Linked DNA regions of Homo sapiens: all the other regions are linked to region 1. The links are contacts of gene promoters, found by promoter capture Hi-C in blood cells and fetal thymus (Javierre and others, 2016). All regions are on one chromosome and are shown on one strand. The core of a region is centred on a gene start or on the middle of the fragment in contact, and the rest is flanking DNA. Distances in the headings are between cores, read along the strand shown. Region 1 holds the start of NOC3L (NOC3 like DNA replication regulator). Region 2 holds the start of ENTPD1-AS1 (ENTPD1 antisense RNA 1). Region 3 overlaps ZNF518A (zinc finger protein 518A). Region 4 has its middle 2.7 kb from the start of EXOC6.

Evidence for each region. The method cuts DNA at HindIII sites, captures the fragments that hold promoters and counts their contacts. A CHiCAGO score of 5 or more calls a contact.
Region 2: a contact is called between a fragment that was not itself captured here and the fragment with the promoter of NOC3L in region 1, in 2 of 17 cell types (activated CD4 T cells and total CD8 T cells). The highest score is 9.1, in activated CD4 T cells.
Region 3: a fragment that was not itself captured here is called in contact with the fragment with the promoter of NOC3L in region 1 in 1 of 17 cell types (non-activated CD4 T cells); the score reaches 5.4 in non-activated CD4 T cells.
Region 4: a fragment that was not itself captured here is called in contact with the fragment with the promoter of NOC3L in region 1 in 6 of 17 cell types (naive CD8 T cells, total CD8 T cells, activated CD4 T cells and 3 more); the score reaches 11.9 in naive CD8 T cells.

The regions. Positions count from the first base shown.
Region 1 is chr10:94,361,551-94,364,336 of GRCh38, forward strand. It overlaps NOC3L (NOC3 like DNA replication regulator), which reads right to left and starts at 1,389. Exons shown (of 21, transcript NM_022451.11): 1 at 1,280-1,389; 2 at 115-322. The coding sequence starts at 1,288. RefSeq lists an enhancer at 1,063-1,322 and a silencer at 1,463-1,592. The HindIII fragment of the contact is 1,523 bases long and covers 295-1,817 here.
Region 2 is chr10:96,089,062-96,091,874 of GRCh38, forward strand. ENTPD1-AS1 (ENTPD1 antisense RNA 1) reads right to left here and starts at 1,174. Exons shown (of 6, transcript NR_038444.1): 1 at 921-1,174; 2 at 205-246. RefSeq lists enhancers at 894-1,263, 1,274-1,323. The HindIII fragment of the contact is 2,317 bases long and covers 296-2,612 here.
Region 3 is chr10:96,131,498-96,134,197 of GRCh38, forward strand. It overlaps ZNF518A (zinc finger protein 518A), which reads left to right. Exons shown (of 6, transcript NM_001330736.2): 2 at 1,089-1,173; 3 at 2,086-2,151. LOC124902486 (a long non-coding RNA gene) reads right to left here. Exons shown (of 2, transcript XR_007062254.1): 2 at 1-2,700. Among named protein-coding and RNA genes, the nearest start is that of ZNF518A, 2.6 kb to the left of the region's middle. The HindIII fragment of the contact is 1,095 bases long and covers 893-1,987 here.
Region 4 is chr10:92,844,456-92,847,155 of GRCh38, forward strand. It overlaps a transcript of EXOC6 not described here. Among named protein-coding and RNA genes, the nearest start is that of EXOC6, 2.7 kb to the right of the region's middle. The HindIII fragment of the contact is 3,318 bases long and covers 1-2,700 here.

The DNA of each region.
Region 1 (2,786 bases), core at 139-2,638:
TCTAGGAAGATCTGAGAACAAGAAAAGCGATTACTAGAAAGCAAAGTTATTTCCATGAAGAACACTTCAGAATAAATCAATGGAAACCAGAGCACATGATGTTTTCACAATTACCTGGTCGCTTTTCCTTTGGGTTCTCCAATGGAATGGGTTTCTTAGACACAGCATCTTTCACAGCTTGCCTTAGTTTCCTCTGTTCTTTTCGGTACTTCTTGAGAGTGCTTTGTTGTTTAAACTGCTTATTTTTTAGCTTGTTTTCAAGTTTGACTTTACTAGTTTTTATTAACTTGCGAAAGCTTGGGATCTGTTTTTTATTTCTTCTCTAGAAAATAACAGAAAGAATACTGCATACCCAGAAACTTATTTTTTAAATCAGGTTAAAGAGAACTGATTACAAATTTCATTAGACCAATTCCACAATTTCAATGTCCCACAGCCACAGACTTGCATATAAAAGCTAAAACCAAACGATGGCTTTAATCCTACAGAAGAGCGCTACAGCATCAGTTATTCAATCCCAATTCACAGCAATTCAAAGGGTTCTACGATCCCCAAACAGGTTAAGAACCACTGATCTAGTAGTGGTAAGTGGCTATTCAAGGCTAGTTTAACACACCTGTAGTTTAACACATTCAAAGCAAAATGCTGGCTGTCTTTAATAAAACTTACATTTATCTACGATTTTATTACTTACAAAGTGCTCCAACAAATCACCTCTAACAGCCTAGTTGAGTACTGACTGCTGTTATCCTCACATTACTGATGAAGCTGCCAAAAGACCCATAAACTAAGGAGGGCAAAACTGAATTCGGATCTTTGGATTCCACTTCTCTTGCTGGTGACTCATTCAGAAATCCCAAAGTTAGTCCTGAACCCCAGGACTACCTCTTATTTTCTGGGAGAACCAGGACAAATCACTTGCTTTTCTATCTCTTTACCCTTCATGGGTACCGTGACTCACATTATAAACTCGCTGAGGGTAGGACCCTGCTTCTCATTTGTGAAAAACGAGTTCGAAAGACGGTCTTGAAAAATTCCTTCAAAGTATGAAATCCCACGCATGCAAAACTCCGTGCCTGTCTCTTCGTGATACTCTGAAGTGGTGCGCGCACACAGTGGGTAACCAAGGATGAGCTCGGTGTAAGGAATGGAAAGCCCCCAGTCTAAACCACCGCCCCCTAGACACGGGTGAAAACCTGCCTAAAAGCTAACTCAGGCAGTGACTCTATCACCCGAAGGGGCCCTAGGCCGCGGCGACCGGGCTTTTGAGGACACTTACCGCCTTCATCCTTAGGCCTTAAATGAATGCCGGCCAGACAAGTTCACCAGAAGCAGGGTTACTACAGAAATCCCGGGGAATGACACACGTGCCGAAGTCCCTACACTACCAGAGCCGGAAACGGCCTTCAGTCCCTCCCAATCCTCCGCCGCCGGAAGTGAGGGCGGGACTTCCGTAGACAGGTTCGGGCTCGCGCCCTCTCGCGGTGACTGTCTCGCGGCCCTGGACCGGTTGCCCCCCGGCGTGCGCGCGCGGACTGGCACGAGGGAAGCCCCGAGGGCGTCGGTGCCAAAGGCGGGAAGCCGGGCGGGAGGGGCGCATTTTGCAAGGTTATCTGAGTATGATTCTTTGACTCTCGCCCTATTTATTTCTTTTAAAACCTTGGGGAAATCGGGCTCCTCCTCTCAGAATGAGAGGACTTGGTTTTTTCGGTCACCTCATTGCATTTTGTGCCTCTCCTCACGTTGCTTATCTCATGCTGTTATAGATACTGATTTTCGTAGTCTTTTTCCTCCATACAGTCCTGAGGGCAGAAAGAAGCTTATTTTTTGTGTGTAATGCCTGCCCCTCGACGGACATTCTGGCCGTGTTTGTAGCATGGCGAATGATTTCTCATCAGCCTTGGTCACTTAAAAGTCTGTGATTCTTAGTGTTTTATTTTGCATTTTTTTTTTGCTTTAATTTTTAACCATTAGCTGATAAAGAACTGTATCCATGGCTGGGTGCGGTGGTTCACGCTTGTAATCCCAGCACTTAGGGAGGCAGAGGCGGGTGGATCACCTGAGTTCCAGGAGTTCGAGACCAGCCTGGCCAACATGGTGAAACCCTGTCTCTACTAAAAATACAAAAATCAGCCAGACATGGTGGCGTGCGCCTGTAATCCTAGCTACTCGGGAGGCTGAGGCAGGAGAATCGCTTGAACCCAGGAGGCAGAGGTTGCAGTGAGTCGAGATCACACCACTGCACTCCAGCCTGGGTGACAGAGCAAGACTGTCTAAAAAATAAAAATAAAAATAAAAAACTGTATCTGCATTTCAGTATCTTACAACTTTGGGTAAATTCTGTCTGCTTAGTAATTTCACCAAAGTCGTTTTTTGTTTTTGTTTTTTGAGACGGAGTCTTGCTCTGGCGCCCAGGCTGGAGTGCAGTGGCGCAATCTGGGCTCATTGCAAGCTCTGCCTTCTGGGTTCACGCCATTCTCCTGCCTCAGCCTCCCGAGTAACTGGAACTACAGGCGCCCGCCACCACGCCCAGCTAATTTTTTTTGTATTTTTAGTAGAGACGGGGTTTCACCGTGTTAGCCAGGATGGTCTCGATCTCCTGACCTCGTGATTCGCCCACCTTGGCCTCCCAAAGTGCTGGGATAACAGGCATGAGCCACCGCGCCCCGCCTAAAGTCGTTCATTTTTACAGGAAGTTTTATGGATTGCAAGAATAAGAGTATCAAAGTGCTTGTCTCTCAAAGACTTTTTTTTCTCAATAAATTTAAGCATTCCACTTCAAGTTT
Region 2 (2,813 bases), core at 204-2,703, 1.7 Mb after region 1:
GTGGAGTAAACCTGCTTCAAATATTAGTTTCTACATTATTGTTTCTATAAAAATAGTAATCTTCTGTATTTTAATATCAACTCATCACATATTAAATATTTCAGTCAAATCAAAATTTCATTTGAAATCTTCAATCTAAAAAATACACAGTTAAGCGCTTAAAAAGTAATTTTAACCACTAGGAAATGTTAATGATTAACTCACATTTGTTTCTGTTTCACTCCATGACAAAGTCTATAGGACACCCTGCAGAGAGGAAAACTCACATTAATATACCCATAATTTTACTTTCAGAAGCTTCTGGTAATCAAAGACTTATTATGAGGTGTCTTCATGTTACCACTGCGCAGTAGCAAACTTAAAATATTCTAAAGATTAATCTATTTTCTCATTTTTTTAATGCTTTTGTTAAAATCTCAACAAGTACTAACATGTTATCTAAATTTAAACCTTAAAACAATAACACGACCCAATATGTGAACTCTGCCTATTAATTCTAAAACTTTTAATAATAGTTTGCTTATGTTTGAGACTTAAAACAATAACATACTGCACTACACCCATCTTAGATATTTTCTAGGATCAAAGTCTATCTGGAGCAGGGCAAGCTGTGGTTGAGGGTGGTTGGGTCAGCAGGTAAGAGCCTTATGACCAGCTCTAAACGCCTCCACGGTGAGGAGCACCTCGAGCTAACAGACCAAGCACCAAAGGGTGGAACAGCTCAAGGTTGCATTTAGGAGACTCCAGCCTCGGCCGCCCGTGACTCCTCGACGAGCCCCACCTCTCTCGGTTCCAGCATCCGGCCCGCCCCTTCCTCCCAGGCTACCACAGTATCGCCCGCCGAGCTCCCGGGCTGCGGGAAATGACGGAAACAAAAACTTGGTACACAAAGAAGGGCTAGGTCAGAAGTGAGGTCCCACCCTGGCAAGAAGGGCGACTTTTCTAGAAAAACTTAGCGGCAAGTTAACGGGAAGCGCGGCGACACAGTTCCTACGATTGTGGGGGGCACTCTGCCGCCAGGCAGTCTCATCCTTTGTCCTTTGAGAGGCCTCCTTGAAGCCGAAGGCTCTTAAGTGTCCCTGGGCAACCCTTGACTCGATCTCCATTACGGGCCCTCACTGACAGCAGCCATGACAGTTGCTTCCGGATATATTGAATCGCCGCGGCCAGAGTCTCCCGGAAGTGACGCAACGCGGAGGGATCCGCGTTCGGCAGTGGGAGACCGAAGCGAAGTGGTTCCCGGAAGCGGCTGCAGCTGGGCTGCTGGTGGCGGGGCGGGGGTAGAGTGGGGAGAGAGGTTGTGGGTCTTACAACCAACCAACCCCAACACGTTTTACGTGTTAGGCAGGCATTGTGCTGAACACCTCATTGGCAAGCCATTTAATCCCTTCCTTACAATCCCAGCAGTCAGAAATGTATCACTTACATTTTATATATGGGGAAACTAAGGTTAAGAGAGGGCAAGTAAATTTGTCCGAGATCGTATAGCTGGTACTTGGTGAACGTGGTCTAACCCAGACACCGCGTTCTCCCTGGTGACTCCATTTTGTAAAACCAGAGCTGTTGGCGCATGGCATCCTCGTAAGCCCCTTTAAGTTAGGCACTCTGTTGCCCAGAGAGGGGCCAACTTGTAGCCAGTATGCTCTTTATGGTGAACACAAGGCCCACGTGTGTGCCTGGGTCCCCTTGGCTGAACCTCGGATTTCAATTGGTTTCTGACACCTTGCCTTTGCAGCATTCTCCGTCTGCAGCGCTGGTTACCTGAGGAAACTGTCAATGATTGCTAGGCTCTGGGGAACATTTTAGCTCCGTTTAGGCCCTTTTAAATCCAGGACTAAGACAGTTGGAGGCCTCTCACCATCACCAGATACTCTAGCTGGCCTTAACAGAGGGCCAAGGACCATAATCTTGGACTTTCCACCAGACCAAGTGTTTGTTTGGCTTCTGTTTCTTTAGAATATGACTGAAAACCAATCTGTAGTTTGTTTAGTCTTCTTTCTGCATTGACCAGTACTCACATAATAAAGTGGGACTAGCCACTAAGGCTATGTTTTTGTAAAAACAAATTATGCCTAGAAAAACACAAGAAATACATCAAAATTAACAGTGATAGTGTTTGAATAGAGAGTGATTTTATTTTTTTCTCTCTGCTTTCTCTTTTGCATATCTGCTATAAAACCCTTTTAAAATAGAAAAATAAGCAAACTGGCTATGGTAAAAACATTTTTAATTGCCTGCTGTTATAATGACGGCAAAGGCATGTTGTCACATTTTGATAAATGACCGTCCTTGATACAAATCACGTAGAGAAATCCTGTTTGACTAGAAAAGCATTGGATTTTTGTGAGTCAGTGTATTCTCAAAATTTTCGATATTTTGTTTTGGTTCTATAATCCTCACAGGAAAAGTAAAAAAGCAAATTGATGTTTTTCACACACTTTCGTATGAGAGTATGCTACCACCAAAAGTCTTCCCTAAAACAAAGTTGCAGGGGTCAAGTCATGTGGGGCGTTTGGATACTTGAAATGGTGGAGAACAAATATAAAAAGCTATTTTTATTCTGGCTGCTTTGGGGTACAGTTTTAAGCAATTTATTTCAGACTGCCAAAGAAAGCTTCATTCTTTATTCACATACTCTACTTCCCACTATTGCTTATTAGTGACTTCTAAAGCAGTGACAAAACAAGTAAAAGAAGATAGAAAGGAAAAATGAGAAGGGATCACGGGAAGAAGAAAATGTGGAGGAACAAAGACAGATGGTGATATTGGGGTTACTTTGGAACTCCAGGGTAGCATGTAACAGCCTTCTTATC
Region 3 (2,700 bases), core at 190-2,689, 1.8 Mb after region 1:
AGGTAAGCATAGTAAACGATGTTGATTTTTGCCATAGAAACTGTAAATTAGATCATCCCTAGATACAGAAAATTGCCAACAAAAGGGGAGAATAAAATGTAGGTATGTTACACAACCAAATGTTTCCTGTTTGTTGCGTGAAAATAAGTATAATTACCAAATAAAACGTTTTATATCTGGTTTTATGGAAGGACAAAAGACAGTAACCACAATGAACACCCACTGTGTGCATTGATAATGTATGAACTTTTAAATGCTTCAATTTTTTGCCATGGTCACACTTCGGATTCTGTTCTAGTCTCTCTGGTAATAGTATGCTGTAATCCCAGAAGTTTCTATATTTTGAAATATTACAGAGGGACTATACTTTAGCCTAGATCTATAATTTGACTTCAGGATATGCTTTAAATGCCCTTTAAGTGTATTTTTGTTGTTTACTTTTCTGTTTATAGTTGTTTAGAATTGTTCTCATTGAGGCATTGTGACATTGCATACTTTAGAGCACTTAATACTACTTTTTTTTTTTTTCTTTAAATGATAGGAGACTTGAATCTTGCCCACATTCCTTCAGGTATGCTACTGAAGGTTTTGTGGCAAAGTGCTATTAGCAGAACAAAAAGGTTTTAACACCGTCTTGAAATTTTTATTTATTATCTGGTCCCAGGTGTGTAGGCTGTGAGTATTTCAGTTCTATATGGGGTATTGGCTTCTCATGGTGAGCAGTTTTCATGGCATATTAGATACCAGAAATGAGTATTAAGGGTTAGTATTGTGGTGGTAGGATAACTGAATTGGAACCGGATCCAGATATTATTTCTAGTTTTGTGACTTTGGGCAAGGCTCATTTTCTTTTTCTTGTAATAAATGAAGATACTGAGTTAGATTGATTCTAAGCTTTAGGTTGTGACTTTTGCAAATTTGTGACATGTTATCACTGGTCATCAATGATGTATGCTTAAGTGTATAGAAGTTTTTTCTTAGTTTTTTTTTTTTTTTTTTACATTTCTTTATACACCTAAGTTGAATGTGAAGTGTAATTGAACAGTTTTTGTCGTCAAAAGTTTTAAAATCTTGGTCTTCATTTCCAGATATCATCTCTTCTTTTGATCACTGTTCCTGATTGTGACATTGTGCAAGTGTTAAATTGTGTGCCTTTTGTTCCTGAAGAAAGAGGTATGGTAAAGATTGAAATACTGGAGTATATAGTCTATTAAGTAGTAAGTTGGTATGTTTTAATATTGGACTAAATAAAGTAAAATATAGGTTAAGTATCCCAAATCCAAAAATCCAGAATGCAAAATTTTTTGAGTGCTGACATGATGGTCAAAGGAAATGCTCTTTGGAACATTTTGGATTTTGAATTTTTGGATTTGAGATGCTCAACTGGTATAATGCAAATACTCTAAAATCCTAAAAAAGAAAAAGAAAAAAAGAATGAAACCCTTCTGTTCCCAAGCATTTCAAATAAGAGACACTCAACCTGTAGTTTTACATATACATGAGTTTTCATAAGTTATATAAGTTATAGTTTTATTTTATTTTTTGGCTAAAATAAAATACTTAAACATGAGTTTTCATTTTAATCTAAGCAAAAAAAGTAATTTTTGGTTTCATAGTTTATTACTTAACATTTTATTAGAAATCCAAATATAACTTTAACTATCATCCTTCTGAATAGAAAAGTGGCATTAAAGTCTTCTGGGTAATGAACAGTGGAGATAAAGGTGGTAGATAGATGTTTCAAAGCTATATGAATGGCCAGAAGATTGTGGTTTTGGTCTAGTAAGTGCAAAGCAATGTACCTAAAGAAAAATTATCTGATATGTGTTTATATTATGACTAATAGCATCTTCATTATGAATCAGGAAAGGGACTTGGGAATCACTATAGTGTTATGATTGGTTTCTTGAAGACAGTCATGTGAATGTCTGGGTGTAGACAAAAAAGGAGGAAAAATATGCCAACAAATCTATGGTATTATAAGGAAAGCTTTGGAAATGTAGTGGAAAATATTGTACCCATGTAAAAAAACATGTTTTTTCTACCCTCAAAACACAGATGTCTCCTACTCTTTGTGTTGGATAGGTCCTGGGATCTTTGAAATGCTAAGATTCTTGGATACCACAGTATCATAAAATTCCTCTAAATGCAGTAAGTATACACATAAGTATGACCGTAAATTAGGAATAAGATTATTTATGTAACTGCTGAAATAGCTGACATAGACTATACCACCTTACAGTATTGCTTTAATTATCATAATAACCGTGTTCTTCCCTGAACTTCACCAGCAAATGGATTTCTGTTCAGGGCCATTTTTTTACAAAGGCATGAATTTTTATTTTGTCAGAAAATAATGTACATTGAGTAGAGAGCAGTAGAGCTGAGTTGAGGTACCACGTTATCGTTTATGTCATTAAGTAACTTTTTCCTATATAATATTTGTTTGACTTCCTACCACGAGATTCACATGGGTACTGTGTTATTCCTGAAGAGATAAAGTAATTCTGAATGCTAAGAATTTTCCTAAAGGTTGAGCATCCCAAATCTAAAAGCCTGAAATCTAAAATACTCCAAAATCTGAAACTTTTTGAGTGCTGACATGAAGCTCAAAGGCAATCATCACTGGAACATTTTGGATTTTGGATATTCAGCCAGTAAGTAATGCAAATATTCCAAAATCCACAAAAATCTGAAATC
Region 4 (2,700 bases), core at 154-2,653, 1.5 Mb before region 1:
AAAATGGGTCTGGAACCAAGAATCCAACCCAAAGACATGTTCCTGTTTCCCTCTCTACAAAAGCAGGAAACATATTTCAGTTGGTTTACATCCACCAAACATGCAGAAAACCCTGATACACAATCAGGTTTTTTTTTAATGATTAGGAAAAAGAACATTTATGTGTCTGGTTTTTATTTTTATTTTATCAAAGAGGAGGCTAAAATGCTGGGCTCTCTGGCTTACTAGCAAATGCCTGATAACCCTAGTCGCCAATGCTAATGTTGATTGAGCTCTAGGCTAAACATAATACATATATTATCTTCTTTAATCCTCACATAATTTGGTGAGCTAGGGATTCTTATTGTCCTTAATTCACACTTGAAGAACGTGAGCCTTAGTCAAGTTAAGTAACTCCCTGAGGCCTGACATCTAGTAAGAGATGAGTTGGAATTTGAATTCAAGTAGTTAAATGCCAGACCAGAGCAGTTGCACTCTACAACCTCATTCTGAGGGAGGCGCTTTCCCAAGACAGGTCATTAGTCTGTAGATAAAAGGCGCAAAGTTAAGTTCCTAATGACTAAGAGTTTATTTACAAGTCAAATCCTTACTTTGCCAATTACTTTTATACTGGACACAAAATGCATCTCCTGTCCTGCTGGTCTTCCTGGTGTATCTTTCTTCTTCCAGGAGTCCTGAAAAGAGATTTTGGATTGATCTCTGGAAGTCAATATCCACTGCCAAAAAATAATTCCACATGCATCTGCAATCTGCCTGTCTGTGCCCTGCTACTCCGCAACCTTCTCAGTGCAGACGTTAAATCATTCACTCCTTGGGGCTGGGCGTGGTGGCTCATGCCTGTAATCCCAGCACTTCAGAAGGCCAAGTCAGGGCAATCACTTTAGGGAAGGAGTGTGAGACCAGCCTGGCCAACATGGTGAAAGCCCATCTCTACTATAAATACAAAAATTAGCTGGATGTGGTGACATGTACCTGTAATCCCAGCTACTCAGGAGACTGAGGCAGGAGAATCGCTTGAAAGCGGGAGGCAGAGGTTGCAGTGAGCCAAGATCGCACCACTGCACTCCAGCCTGGGCAACAGAGAGAGACTCCATCTCAAAAAAAAAAAAAAAAAAAAATCATTTATCCCTTGGATAGGCTTCCCCCACCCCACATTGACATATTTGATATATCTATGTCCATGATTAAAATGTACAGTTAGGGCCGGGGACGGTGGCTCACGCCTGTAATCCCAACACTTTAGGAGGCCGAGGCGGGCAGATCACCTGAGGTCGGGAGTTTGAGACCAGCCTGACCAACATGGAGAAACCCAGTCTCTACTAAAAATACAAAATTAGCTGGGCGTGGTGGCACGTGCCTGTAATCCCAGCTACTCCGGAGGCTGAGGCAGGAGAATCACTTGAACCCAGGAGGCGGAGGTTGCAGTGAGCCAAGATCACGCCATTGTTACCCAGCCTGGGTAACAAAAGCGAAACTCTGTCTCGAAAAAACCAACCAAACAAACAAAACAAATGTGCAATTAGTTATTTAGGACATTTAGCTTTGAATTCTTAGCTAAAACCTCCAGGTACTCACGGAACTGTCAGAAGTCTCAGAGGGAACCAGCAAAAACTGTTTCAGAAGGAGAAGTGGTAAATGGACTTCCTTCCATGTTCACTTGAATTTCGGGGAAGATACTGCTGCTTATGTTGAAGTAATCTCTATGGGCAGGTGTTGAAACAGGGCTGGCCTGAGGAGTGCCTAAGCAGGGCTGGTTTCCCAGAGCAGGGGCACTTGGAGCCAGCTTTGGAATAAAAGGTATCAGGACTGGTGAAGAAAAGGGGTAGAGTTCTAGGGAAGGAATGATCAGGAAAGTAATTCCCCAGCTGGAGACATTGGTCAAATAGGAAACTGGCCTGTGCCACATGCCCTGCTCTCCTCATTTTGCTCATTATCATAGTTCACCGCAGCCTCGAACTCCTGGGCTCAAGCAATCCTCCTGCCTCAGCCTCCCAAAGCTCTGGGATTATAGGTGTGAGCCACTGTGCTCGACCTAAGAAGTTCTTGAGAGGGGAAAATAACCTTTTGAAAATTGAAACTGAAACATAAAAAAAAGAAGACAAATTTTATCCCCTCCCACAAAAAGAATGAAAAGCTAGGTCTCTCTGCAGGAAATGGAAGACTGTCTTAGCTCAATGGATGTGTATAGCTGGAATCCATTGCTCTGAAGATTCCAGATTAATAGGAAGGAGGGCATTAGCAATGTTTTATAGGGCCCTTCCTAAGTTTGGTAGGCAGTGGGTCCCACTGATGCTCACATTCTAATCCCTGGAACCTGTGCATATGTTATTTTTACATGACAAAGGGGGTATTGCATATGTGATTAAGGTTAAGGACCCTGAGATGGAAGATTATCCTGGATTAAATGGTTGGGTCCACTCTAATCATATGGGTCCTTAAAAACTGAGCATCTTTTCCAGCCTAAGTCAGAGTCAGAGGAAGATGTGACCACAGAAGAATGGTCAGAGAGATGTAATGCTGCTAGCTTTGAAGATGGAGGAAGGGGGCCACAAGCCAAGGTATGTGGGTGGCCTCTAGAAGCTGGAAAAGGCAAAGAAACAAATTCTCCCGCAGAGTCTCTAGCAAGGAACACAGACATGCTGACACCTTGATTTTTAGCCCAGTGAGACCTGTGACAGACTTCTAACGTACAGAACTGTA